Linked DNA regions of Homo sapiens: regions 1 and 2 are each linked to region 3. Evidence: promoter capture Hi-C in 16 types of primary human blood cells and fetal thymus (Javierre and others, 2016). All regions are on one chromosome and are shown on one strand. Each heading gives the region's core, a stretch centred on a gene start or on the middle of the fragment in contact. The rest is flanking DNA. Distances are from core to core; before and after follow the strand shown.

Region 1 (4,286 bases), core at 1,031-3,530, 270 kb before region 3:
TTCAGCATCTTCCAGTGGTTGGTTCTGCTGAGATTATAGGATTTCCCCTCTGTCCTGCTGGTTGGGATTGAAGAAACGTGGGAACAGAGGTTGGAAGAACTCTGTATACTATGGATTATGACTAAGTTAATAACATCTTCTCCAGGATAAAAGGCAAATGTTTGGGGGTTAGACTTTCAGAGAGGTTTTTAGAGGGGAGAGACCTTTTCTCTTATTTTGGGGCCTGCCATCAGATTACAGATACACTATTTCCCTTCTCAATTTTATGAAACTACACAGATACAAGGAATGATACTCTCACATTCTGGACACATTTCATGATTAGAACTGTAAAGTTTCTTCACTTTACAAGAAAAGGCCAAAGAAAACCTTAACGAACTTTTAACATTTCTCTTCTCCTAGGCTATAAATATTTTCTATAGGTTATGTCATGATTTTTGAAATCACGTCACTAAGTGAAATCTTTCCACCAGTTCTGGGCAGTGCCACATATAAAATACCTGGTCCTTTCTGGCTAATGCCAAAGCCAGTCCTTCTGCCATTTTGGCTCTGTTGGCTTGGAATGTCTCATTCTGCTCTTGAAATTTCCGCATGGAAGCTGTTAACAAAGAGGCTCTATTTGAGATATGAAAACACTTCAGAAACAGCATGACAAATAGCCCATGTGATTACAACTGTCACCTAATGAAAAAGGCCAAAGTCACATAAGTGGATTGTGATACTAGGAAAAGCTGGATCCACCTCAACTTTCCAGAAGAATATTTTGGCCTTGGTAATAGACCACAGTTTTTGTTTGTTTCCTTATCGTTTTTGTTTTTTGTAATAGACAAGTATATATATTTACAAAGATGCCAAAAGGTAACTTTTTAAATGGTACAATGATAGAACACTGAGTTAGGTAGGTTGCCAGAAAACATCAAAGCTGATGCTAAGTGATGGCTACTACCACTTTATCAGAATTAAAAACAAAAAGAAAAATCAAAACAAACAAAAAACCTTTCTTTTACTTTATTTTCCTTAAAAGTTTTAGTACATATCAACAAAAAAAATAACTTTCTACTTCTACTAACATCTTTCTTGGATGGTACCCAAAGAATATATGATTGAGGGTAGACTACACAAAATGTATGATTTATTGCTGAGGGAGTGATGACAGGGATTTCTCCCAGTTACTCAACACAGCAGTAATGAAGCTGTGGTGAGAACCCATTTCCTAATCCAGACCTAAGGGATGGGTACTAGATTTTATTAAAACCTGAGGGTAGCCTAAATAAAGGGGTCAACTGGATAGAGACAAGCTGATACACATAATGACCTACTCCTAAGAGTCATGCCCATAAGCCAACATAAATAAAACTTGCATACTTATAAATATCATCCAAATGTTATATCAACCTGATTAAGAAGTACACTACTTATAAAATAAAGATTTGTGCTTTGAAGAAGGACAAACTTAACCATACACTATTGTTTCATTTCAAAAACTAAACCTTGAAAAGATTGAAAAAAGCAGGAAAAAAATACGTACAATCCTGGTGTTTTTCTAATGCAATTTCAAGCTTCTCTTTTATCTTCTGCAAGTTTCGGACCTGTTCAGCATAGTCTTGGGTGAGGAGGGTGACGCACATACCAGAAATGGACAAACATCAGGAAAGGAAGTTAATTAAACAAAAAAATGAATGGAAATGATGATGATTTTCTTAACCTGAAAACCATTCCTGTTAAGGAAAGCTAGACAGACAGCCTCCCATTAACAATGAACAACACAGGAAAACAAGTATAGTACAAACTATCCATGGTGTATAAATGGTGAGTACAAAAAGGCAAGTTTGTTTAGCCTTGATAGAAAAACAAGAATTAGGCTTAGCCTGGTGATCAGAAATGTCCTGCTATGAAAAACACAGATTTATCTCATGACTTAATTTCAAATCTCAGTTTCCACTTCCTTTTCCGGTCTTAGCAGTAGGATAGATCAAAGTGAACTCACTAAACAGCTCGCTTATAGTCCACACAACTCAGGAACAGTAGTTAGGGCAATAACAAACACCTTAGGTGCAGCATTGTCTTTATAGTGATAGCACTTAATTCTCTAAAAAAGTGAGCTCCCTTTCTACACAGGAACTTGGTAACCTACGCTACATTAAATGTGAATGTCAGAATTAATTATCTAGGTGGCCAAAGAAGATAGTTATGGTTTAGTGAAAACATAGTAGCTCAAATCCCAACTCTGTCAGTCCTTAGCTGGGGACCTTAAGCAAATTATTGGTCCTGTAGTATTAGTTTCTTCATATATTAAATGATGATATTAATTGTACCTACCACAAAAGATGCATTAGATAAAACATTTTACGTGCCTTAAGTGCTTTGCACACAGTGCTCAATAAAATGTAGCTCTTATTGTTACTGTGACTATTATCATTACTCATACTAATACTGTAGGACAATACTCACCACATAGTGGGCCCAGTAAATGTCAGTGCTCTTCCCTGTCCCTTCTCTAACGTAAGTCAAGCTCAACTATTCTTCCTACCATATGGGGAAGGTATATATATTATTTTATAACTCTCTCTCCAACATTAAACAAATGTAAAATTACTTTACCTCTGTTACTGATATTATTTATGGGTAGGAGTAACAGGATAGCAACAATTAAGTTTAAGGCAGATGGAATTAAGACTCTAGCATCAAATAAATCTGGGTTTGGATCCCAGCTCTACCACTTACTACTTGTGAGGCCTTAACCTTGCTAAGCCTAATAAGGCTCTAGTGAGGACAAAATAATTAACTGGTAGTTGTGAGCTATGCTATGAACCTTTGATAACTACATAAATACAAATACTTCACATACAATTTGGTGAATTTGGGTCTGATAGCTACACAAATATAAATATTTCACATACCACTTGGTGAACTTCGGTCTGCTGTTTTACTCCAATAAAATGGGCATTAAAAGGCCAAGGGACAAAAAGAGACACAGAAGCCATGAACCACTTTACAGGATGAAGCTTTCCAAATGTATCCACTGGCAGAAACCAAAATAATAACTCACAATTCTATCATGACCATGCCCTCCTCAGGCAAAGGATATAATGGGAGCTGTGTAAATTGTAAACTGCAGACAAAAGACATAATGAGAGTGACACCTTCTATGCAGGTGCTGAAGTCAGAAATACCATTGAAAAGTGGCCCAAAGACCTACAACAACACTTACACAGGTGGTATGAGCTGCAGGAAGTGGCAACACAGCACCAATCTCTGGTGCTGATGAATCCAATATCTGTTGGCCATTCCCTTTAAATACTAACGCCATCCCTTTCCACCTGAAAGCAGGCTATGCTAATGGTGGAAGATGGTCAAATCTATTGTACATATATTATTATTATCTTTTATTTCCATGGCTAGAAACCTCAGGAGCAGAAAAAATTTTTTAATAAACTTTCAAATTCAGTTTTGAATTTATACTATTTACTACACTAACAAAAGAAGAGGGTATACTTGCTCCTTTCTAAAAAGATCAAAATGATATGTGAAAATAACTATAAAGTCATCCTATATGGCTATTTTATAGGAAGAGAGTCAAGCAAGGCAAGTTTCCTGTTGTTTGCTTTTTATGAGTTCTTAGACATACCAGAAAGTCTGGCCTCTAACTTCCGTATCTGTTCATTCCTTCTCAGAAGCTGGGATGAAAGATCTTCTCTGGAGCTGCTTCCATCGGAAGCCTGTTGAGGTAGACACAAGGAAGGTCGTATTCATATATGTGTGAGACCACAATACTGAGCCAGAAAGTGACAAGTCTTATTTTAGGTTTGGTTACACTTTAATTAATTGTAATCACTGAAAAGCTGGGCCTAGTTTCTCTACCTGGAAAGTGGAAGCAACGCTTTCTTCCTCTTATAAAGTGAAGGAGAGAGGAGATGCTAAACAGATCAATTTTATGTGTACGCATGCTACTGAAATAAATAATAGTAAATAGATCCATTATTACAGCAAGTATATAATACAAAAACTATATTTGCCATGATAAAAAAATCACTTTATCTTTCCAAAAGTAAAGTCCTGGGATAAAGAAGGCGGGGGTTCTTTAGGGATCAAAAGCTGGTCTATGACTACGAATCTTTCACCGATATTGATAAAGTTTCAGTATCTTCATCTATGAAACAAACGGATATCAATCTAAAACTCTAACTTGCATCATAGACTTCAGCAGATAATATGCATTCAACAAACCAATATATTAATGAGGCATACATTTTTCCCCAACAAACCAGATTATTTTAAAATAAATG
Region 2 (3,861 bases), core at 89-2,588, 430 kb before region 3:
ATGATGCTCTCCTCTTTTTCCTGTGGCTATTTCTCCGCCATACTGAAAAACAGGTTAGACATCTCACAGTGGTTTTCTTCTGATTTTCTATTACTTACTAAGGGTGTTACAGTCTAACACCCTTGTCTTTTTCTTAAAGACAAGCCATGTTGGAAAACAATCAATGAACAAAAGACTGGGCTGGATTCTAGAAATACTGTATATCAAAGTTACATCTAGAGACGTTTTTTAAATTTAAGCTCAGCTGAATCTGAAACTTAAGCTCTAAAAAGCTCAATACCCAAGAAAGAATTACCTGCTCAGTACCAAACCACTTTCTTGCTCATTTTTAATAATTCTGGTATTTCTGAACCCTAGTTATCGAAGGCATCCATAAACCCTTAAGAAATTACCTGAGCCAGGAAAAAACTTTAATTAAAAAGTTAAGGTTGATCTTAATGCAGAAGTGTGAAAAACATTTTCCTTCACAACTTAATTGGTTTTGGAAATGCTCTCAAAGTATTACAAAGAGTTGGGTATATCAGATCACTACTTATGTGGGCAGATTAGATAGCTACCTTCTGTTAAAAACTGTTTCAAGCACATTTATTCTTTATTGAAATACAAGCGTGTTTATCTGTTGATTCAGAACTTTGATTTTTCTAATTCTGACCTTTTTCCCACATGACTAGAATCTGTTTTTACACATGAAATAAGGCACTTTTACTGTCCTACTTAAAAAAAACAGACTGACCCAACAATGTAAAATTTACTCTAAAACACATCTTCTCAAGTGTCACTTTCAACTTAATTATTATGCATGGAAAAATACTGAACAGAAAAGTGTCATTAATTTGGCTATAAATCAAAAATAAACTTAAGAAGCAAAGATTATGACCAGCCCCAAAGATCTCGATGAATTTGCTGACAATGAAGTCTCCTAATGTGGGAGAATCTATCCTGGCTTTATGCAATTCTTAAGCTAGAAGTTGCCATCTGAACACAATTCATTAACAAACCAATTTTTCAACATAACCAATAAATAATATCTACCCAATTATAAAAATGAAGTGGTAAATCTTCCCACTAACACAAATGAAACACAGCTCCAAGCTCCAAAACATGCAAGCATCATTAGCAATTTAAAGCCAACTTGCACAACAAACACTAGGGGTGGTATAAGAAACTTCCTCTACCAATGTTACAGCAACAGTTGGCATTTCTACCTACCATCCTCTACTATTCTAAAATGTGGTATTTTAATCTAAACTCTATTTTCCACCTTTGCCCCAAAACCCTAGGAAAAAAGTAGGGAATGAGAAACCAGAAAATTCTAAATAAAATATGGAAATGCATGATTTGGACATATTTTTGGAAATTTACCAGCAGTTATTTTTTTCATTAGCTCCCCATCCAACTCCCTTTCATGTACTAACACATGTGCCTTGCATACACCTTTTTGCTACGGAAGTCAGAATGAATTATAGATTAGGAATCATGTCATCATATTTTGGTTACATGAATCAGAACTGCTGAATGATTTGGTGGCTTGTACACTGGAGACTGTAAATGTGGTCATCTCCCACCTCAGCTATGCAAAATCACCAGTGAATTTGCTCACTGTCGCCTTTCTTCTACCCTAGCCGTCTTTGGAGGTCACAGAAGCTACAAAAAAAGAAAAAAAAAAAAAAAAGAAAAACCTGCGTGCTGTATGTACTAAGAAACAACAGTACTACAGCATGTTTTTGGTTTTGTTTTTTTCTAATGGGAGTAGGAAAAAATTCTGGGGCAACTCAGAATTAACTTAATTTTTTAAATCACAGAACTGAAAAGTTAAATCATCATGGGAAATATTTGCCAATTTATTTTCCAGCATAAACATTTGGACGGCATGGTTATAGCAGAAGAAAAAGGCACCGTGCTATTCAGTGAACTTCTCCCCATTTCCTCTAAAGTGTAATTACATAAAATATGCTTTTAATTACTTATAATGGCTTATAACCTTCCTTTGCCTTCCTTTGCTTTAAATATTTAAAAGTATATTCCCTCATTCTCTTAAAATGAACAAATGCAATATTCAGCATACACTTCCTCAAATCATTCATCTTCCTTTGAAATCCCAAAAGGGAGCAGTCCTCTATTACAACTAAATGAGTTCATGTTTGTTATGAAAACCTACAAGCAACAACTGAAAATAGCGCAGTCAGCACAGGGAATTCCTGGAAGGATGATGGTGCATCAAAAGGCTAGAAAGAAACTCTGTTCTGACAGAATAAAAACCATTCAAAGGACTGTAAATTCAGCATCAATGGTGTTTCCGGTAGGAAAACATTTCTAAAATGCCACCTCCAGTTTATTTCTTCATGACAGAGACCAAAAGACCCCCTATCTGTATAGTTGTCTCTTGAAAATAGTTCATATAAAATAGAAATCAGTCACTAGGAGTAAAAAACAGATAATTCATTTCTTTTCTACTCAGAACAAGCAGTTTCATATATTTTTGGAGAAAAATATTAATTAGGAAGCAAAAAAGAAAAAATGTGCCCATTGTTCCATAGGCAAACTTAAAAAAATTTTTGGCAATTCTTCTGTGAGCATGTTAACTTCATAAGTGCTAATGAACATAAATTGTAAAACATTGCACAATGCTAGTTTTTACACTGAAAAATATCCCACAACGGTCTAGCGTCTAGTGTATTTTAAGCCCATCAAGCTGCCAAAAGTTCCCATTGTATTTTCAGCAAAAAGAAAACATCTGTACCACTAACTTAGACTAATGTAAAGCTTTAAAGCCACCTTAGTCTAAATGGATTGCTCGATAACATTCTTTCAAATGGTTCTGACCAATTGAGGAAATGAGACTATGAATGGGAAATCTGATTAAGAGTTAAAATTACCATTGAGTTCTTTAAAATGTACTAATGAATAATTAATAACAAATGCAGTTCTTAGGTTTCTCTTACAACACTATTATTCTCAAGTAGAATTGAAAGCAATATTGCAGTAAATATTGAATTGCAGTAAAATCCGTCATCTACATTATATGCACAGGTGGGTACAGGAAGTATTCACACATAGGAAGGCATCACAGAAATATACACGCTAATATGGGATATAAGATAGGTTGGGGTTTGGATTCAAAAAAATCAGCATGGGAAAATTTAGATCAGGATTTACAACACTCACAAATTAATACCAAACCAAATCTCCACACAAACTAGCTTAAAAAGTCAAAGGCATTAAAGAAATCCTTTGTTCCTATTATACTGTCTCCTTCTACCCTAACTGGATTCCAGCTTCCCCCTTTGTGACACGGAATTTTATTGATCTCAAACATGTTCACATTCAGAAATTAGTTGCCAACGACAGCCCACGGAACGGCCAGCCACCTAGCCATCATACATCATACACAAATTAAAAAAAAAAAAAAAAGAGCTCTGAAAACACATCATTATTTTTAAGATCAGCAACATCAAGTGAAGTTAACCAAGCTCTCTTCTACACGGACTTTTCCCTTTTGTAAAAAACACCAGATCTCCTGAACTAACAAAATGTTTGACTAGTTAATAAACGTATGAAGGCACGGATCCAACCCAAGATTTCCACCGTCTGTAGCTACTCACTCATTCAACAATTGAGCGCCTAACTGACCTATTTTCAGGTTACTTTCCTCACACCTGCCAGGTCACTGTCCTGATTGAGAAACCTCTTGGTGAAGCAGTTAATTTTTAGTGCCTCCTAACTGTCCCGGGTGTTTGCATTCAATTTGAAATCTGTTACTTGTTAGACACTGTTCGGTCCTAGATCTCTCAGAGAACTGCGAGTTTATGGCGCAGCGAGGGGAGGAGGCACTGATCTCTGAGAGCCTCCCTTTATTCGGAA
Region 3 (3,836 bases), core at 832-3,331:
CCTGGCTGATTTTTTTTTAGACAGAGTCTTGCTCTGTTGCCCAAGCTGGAGTGCAGTGGCATGATCTTGGCTCACCACAACCTCTGCCTCCCGATTCAAGCAATTCTCCTGCCTCAGCCTCCCGAGTAGCTGGGACTATAGGTGCGCATCACCGTGCCTGGCTAATTTTTGTATTTTTAGTAGAGATGGGGTTTCACTATGTTGGCCAGGCTGGTCTTGAACTCCTGACCTCGTGATCTGCCCTCCTTGGCCTCCCATAGTGCTGGGATTACAGGCATGAGCCACCACACCCAGCCTGGAGCTTGGATTTTAACCCAAGTATGTTTGATCTCTTCCCACTAAGCTACCATAGCTCTATACTCCAGGAGCTCCTGTTTCTAACCTGAGCTGTTTTCTCTATTTTCTAGGACACAGCGACAGTTTCAGAGACTGGAGTTCTTTGAAACAGACATAAGAGAGCAAGCCACCTCTCTATTTTCAGGAAAGACACAGAGAACCTATGGTTATGAACTAAAACAAAGATAATGTAGATTCTGAATATGTCTAGAGACATTGTTCATTTATAGTCAGGAATAGCTTTACCCTTGACAGAGAACTCTGTGCCAGCTGCTGGGTGCTGAGCACTTTTATTTACATTATGTCATGTATTCCCCACCACAACTACTACATACATCTCTCTTTTTTTTTTTTTTTTCTTGAGACGGAGTCTGGCTCTGTCACCCAGGCTGGAGTGCAGTGGCACTATCTCGGCTCACTGCAACCTCCGCCTCCCAGATTCAAGCAATTTTCCTGCCTCAGCCTCCTGAGTAGCAGGGATTACAGGCGCCCACCACCACGCCTAGCTAATTTTTGTGTTTTTAGTTGGGGGGGGGGGCGGGGGCGTTCACCATGTAGGCCAGGCTGGTCTCGAACTCCTGACCTCGTGATCCGCCCGCCTCGGCCTCCCAAAGTGCTGGACTTATAGGCGTGAGCCACCGCGCCCAGCCTATGATAGAAATCTTATTAGCTCCATGGTTACAAACAGACAACCCTGAGGCCTGGAGGAAAGTAACTTCAGAACAGATACTCTCCTGGCTGAACTTTATATTTATTGCACTCTTGGCAGTCGTCCCTAGTTGTCTTTTTCTTTGATCTCTCTCTAGTTAAGACTTGCTCCTGGAGGCAAAGCGTGGTGGTGTCTGGCTCAGCATAGCACCTGCCATAATTACAAATGGCAATTATGGAATGAATCAGCTGTTTAAAGCACCAAATCTTGAGCTGGCCCGAAGACTGCGCAGGAGGATTGCATGCTCAACTCTCCCCTTTAGAAACTGTTAACAATCGTTGTGGCCGGGCGCGGTGGCTCACGCCTGTAATCCCAGCACTTTGGGAGGCCGAGGCGGGTGGATCATGAGGTCAGGAGATCGAGACCATCCTGGCTAACAAGGTGAAACCCCGTCTCTACTAAAAATACAAAAAAAATTAGCCGGGCGCGGTGGCGGGCGCCTGTAGTCCCAGCTACTCGGGAGGCTGAGGCAGGAGAATGGCGTGAACCCGGGAAGCGGAGCTTGCAGTGAGCCGAGATTGCGCCACTGCAGTCCGCAGTCCCGCCTGGGCGACAGAGCGAGACTCCGTCTCAAAAAAAAAAAAAAAAAACAATCGTTGTAACTGGAAATGTAACTGTTATACCCTCCCCCCCTTTTATTTATTTATTTTTTTGAGAGGGAGTTTTTGCGCTGTTGCCCAAGCTGGAGTGTGGTGGCGCCCAGCCCTGTTAGCCCCTTACAGAGTAGATCAGCTGCCGCAGGCATCTGAGTTCCCCAAACGGACGCCCGAACCCGGCATTGCGCAAATCGTTTCCAAGTAGCCCCGGCTTATTTATCCCGTCCGGGAGGGAGGGACCCAGGGAAGGCCCACCCCACTTGGTTCCCGAGAAATGCAGAGCCTGGCGTCCACTCCCGGTCTGGGGGACCCCTCCACCGCCAGCCCAGGAAGTCAGCGCCGGGCCCTCGGGGCGGAGCAGGGAAGAGGGAGCGGTTGGCCCGGACGCTCTTCCGGGTCCTGGGAGGAGGGCCCGGACCTAAGCCCCGCCCCTCCGGGGTGGAGTCACGGCTCGCGACTGGCCTAAGTCGCCGCAGGTATTGCAGTCCGGGGCTGGAGGGTAGGGGCGAGGGTCCCCGGATACCGGGTCTATCACGGTCTCGGGCAGGGAGTCTGAATCTTTTAGGGGAGTGGGCCCAAGCCGGGTGCAAAGAACGGGGAAGGGCCTTCCCTGGCTCCGTCCCGGCCACTTTGACCGAATCAGCCTGTTCTTTCCCGACCCCGTCTCCTATCCCCTAGAACTGCCACGTGGGGATGAGATTTGCTGGGCTGGTAGCGGCGGCTGCTGCGGGAGGTCCCGCCCACGTGAAGCCAGCCTAACTGAGCTCTGGACTTTGGGGACAGCTGTCAGTGGCCTAGGCCGCAGGTGAGATTTATCCATTCATCTCTCAATCTATTTTCTTTCTTCATTCACTAGCCACTCCCCCACTTCTACTCCATGCCAGGTCCATTGGTAGGTTCTCGGAATGGATCTGACAGGCCCAGCCCTCTAGGAACTTAGTCTAGTGGAATTTAATCTAGAATCTAGTCTAGAAGCCTTAAATAGATAAACATTCCAAATGATTCCTGCAATGGTGATGGCTAATACCTTCAGAGCCCAGTGGGTGGAAGAAGGAAGTAACTTGGATGTGGGTGGAAGAGAAAAGGGCAAATCAGGGAAGGTTTCACCAGGGAAGGGACTTTTGAACTGGGCTTTGAAGGTTAACTAGGAGTTTGCAAATTTCCCAGAAGGGAAGCGACATTCCAAATAGGGGAAGCAGAACAGGCTGCAAAATTATGAAAAGGCCTGCCATATTACAAGAACAGCAAAAAAACCAATAATGCAAGAGATTGTGGAGGTGAGTTCACGGGAAAAAAGCTCAACAGCAGAAGGCCTTACTTTCTATGCTATGTTGAGGCCAAGATTTATCCCAGAGCTCAGTATTTCTCAGCTTCTTTAAATATTTTGTCCTTTGAGCGGAGAGCAGTGGCTCACACCTGTAATCCCAGCTTTTTAGGAGGCTGAGGTGGAAGAATTGCCTGAGGCTAGGAGTTCGAGACCAGCCTGGACAACAAAGCGAAACCTCCATTTCTATTTTTTTTTCTTTTTTTGAGGAGGAGTCTTGCTCTGTCGCCAGGCTGGAGTGCAAGTGGCGCAATTTCGGCTCACTGCAACCTCCGCCTCTTGGGTTCAAGCAATTCTCACGCCTCAGCCTCCTGAGTAGCTGGGACTACAGGCGTGGGCCACAACGCCCAGCTAATTTTTTTTGTATTTTTAGTAAAGACAGGGTTTCACCATGTTGGCCAGGATGGTATCGATCTGACCTCATGATCCGCCTGCCTCGGCCTCCCAAAGTGCTGGGATTACAGGCGTGAGCCACTGCTCCCAGCCCCGTTTCTATTTTTAATTAAAAAATAAATAAATGGCCGGGCTCAGTGGCTCACGCCTGTAATCCCAGCACTTTGGGAGGCCGAGGCGAGCCAAGTTCAAGACCAGCCTGGCGAACATAGTGAAACCCCATCCCTACGAAAAATACAAAAAAAATTAGCCAGGTGTGGTGGCACTTGCCTGTAGTCCCAGCTTACTCTGGAGGCTGAGGCAGGAGAATAGCTTGAACCCGGGAGGCAGAGGTTGCAGTGAGCTGAGATCCTGCCACTGCACTCCAGCCTGGGTGACAGAGTGAGACTCCATCTCAGAAAAAATAAAAATAAAAAATAAAGCCAGGCACGGTGGCTCATGCCTGTAATCCCAGCACTTTGGGAGGCTGAGGCGGGCA

The links. The method cuts DNA at HindIII sites, captures the fragments that hold promoters and counts their contacts. A CHiCAGO score of 5 or more calls a contact.
Region 1: a fragment that was not itself captured here is called in contact with the fragment with the promoter of RABEPK in region 3 in 11 of 17 cell types (M2 macrophages, total CD4 T cells, naive CD8 T cells and 8 more); the score reaches 9.7 in M2 macrophages.
Region 2: a contact is called between a fragment that was not itself captured here and the fragment with the promoter of RABEPK in region 3, in 1 of 17 cell types (naive CD8 T cells). The highest score is 5.8, in naive CD8 T cells.

Annotation. Positions count from the first base shown.
Region 1 is chr9:124,927,688-124,931,973 of GRCh38, forward strand. GOLGA1 (golgin A1) reads right to left here. Exons shown (of 23, transcript NM_002077.4): 4 at 3,629-3,719; 5 at 1,529-1,603; 6 at 501-598. Among named protein-coding and RNA genes, the nearest start is that of GOLGA1, 11 kb to the right of the region's middle. The HindIII fragment of the contact is 1,446 bases long and covers 1,558-3,003 here.
Region 2 is chr9:124,765,858-124,769,718 of GRCh38, forward strand. All of the region lies in intron 1 of NR6A1 (nuclear receptor subfamily 6 group A member 1), which reads right to left. LOC124900274 (a long non-coding RNA gene) reads right to left here. Exons shown (of 2, transcript XR_007061773.1): 1 at 1-3,861. Among named protein-coding and RNA genes, the nearest start is that of NR6A1, 3.5 kb to the right of the region's middle. The HindIII fragment of the contact is 2,845 bases long and covers 1-2,761 here.
Region 3 is chr9:125,198,461-125,202,296 of GRCh38, forward strand. RABEPK (Rab9 effector protein with kelch motifs) reads left to right here and starts at 2,082. Exons shown (of 8, transcript NM_005833.4): 1 at 2,082-2,446. It overlaps LOC105376271 (a long non-coding RNA gene), which reads right to left and starts at 1,936. Exons shown (of 2, transcript NR_135145.1): 1 at 1,766-1,936; 2 at 1,073-1,195. RefSeq lists a silencer at 1,960-2,009. The HindIII fragment of the contact is 9,581 bases long and covers 1-3,836 here.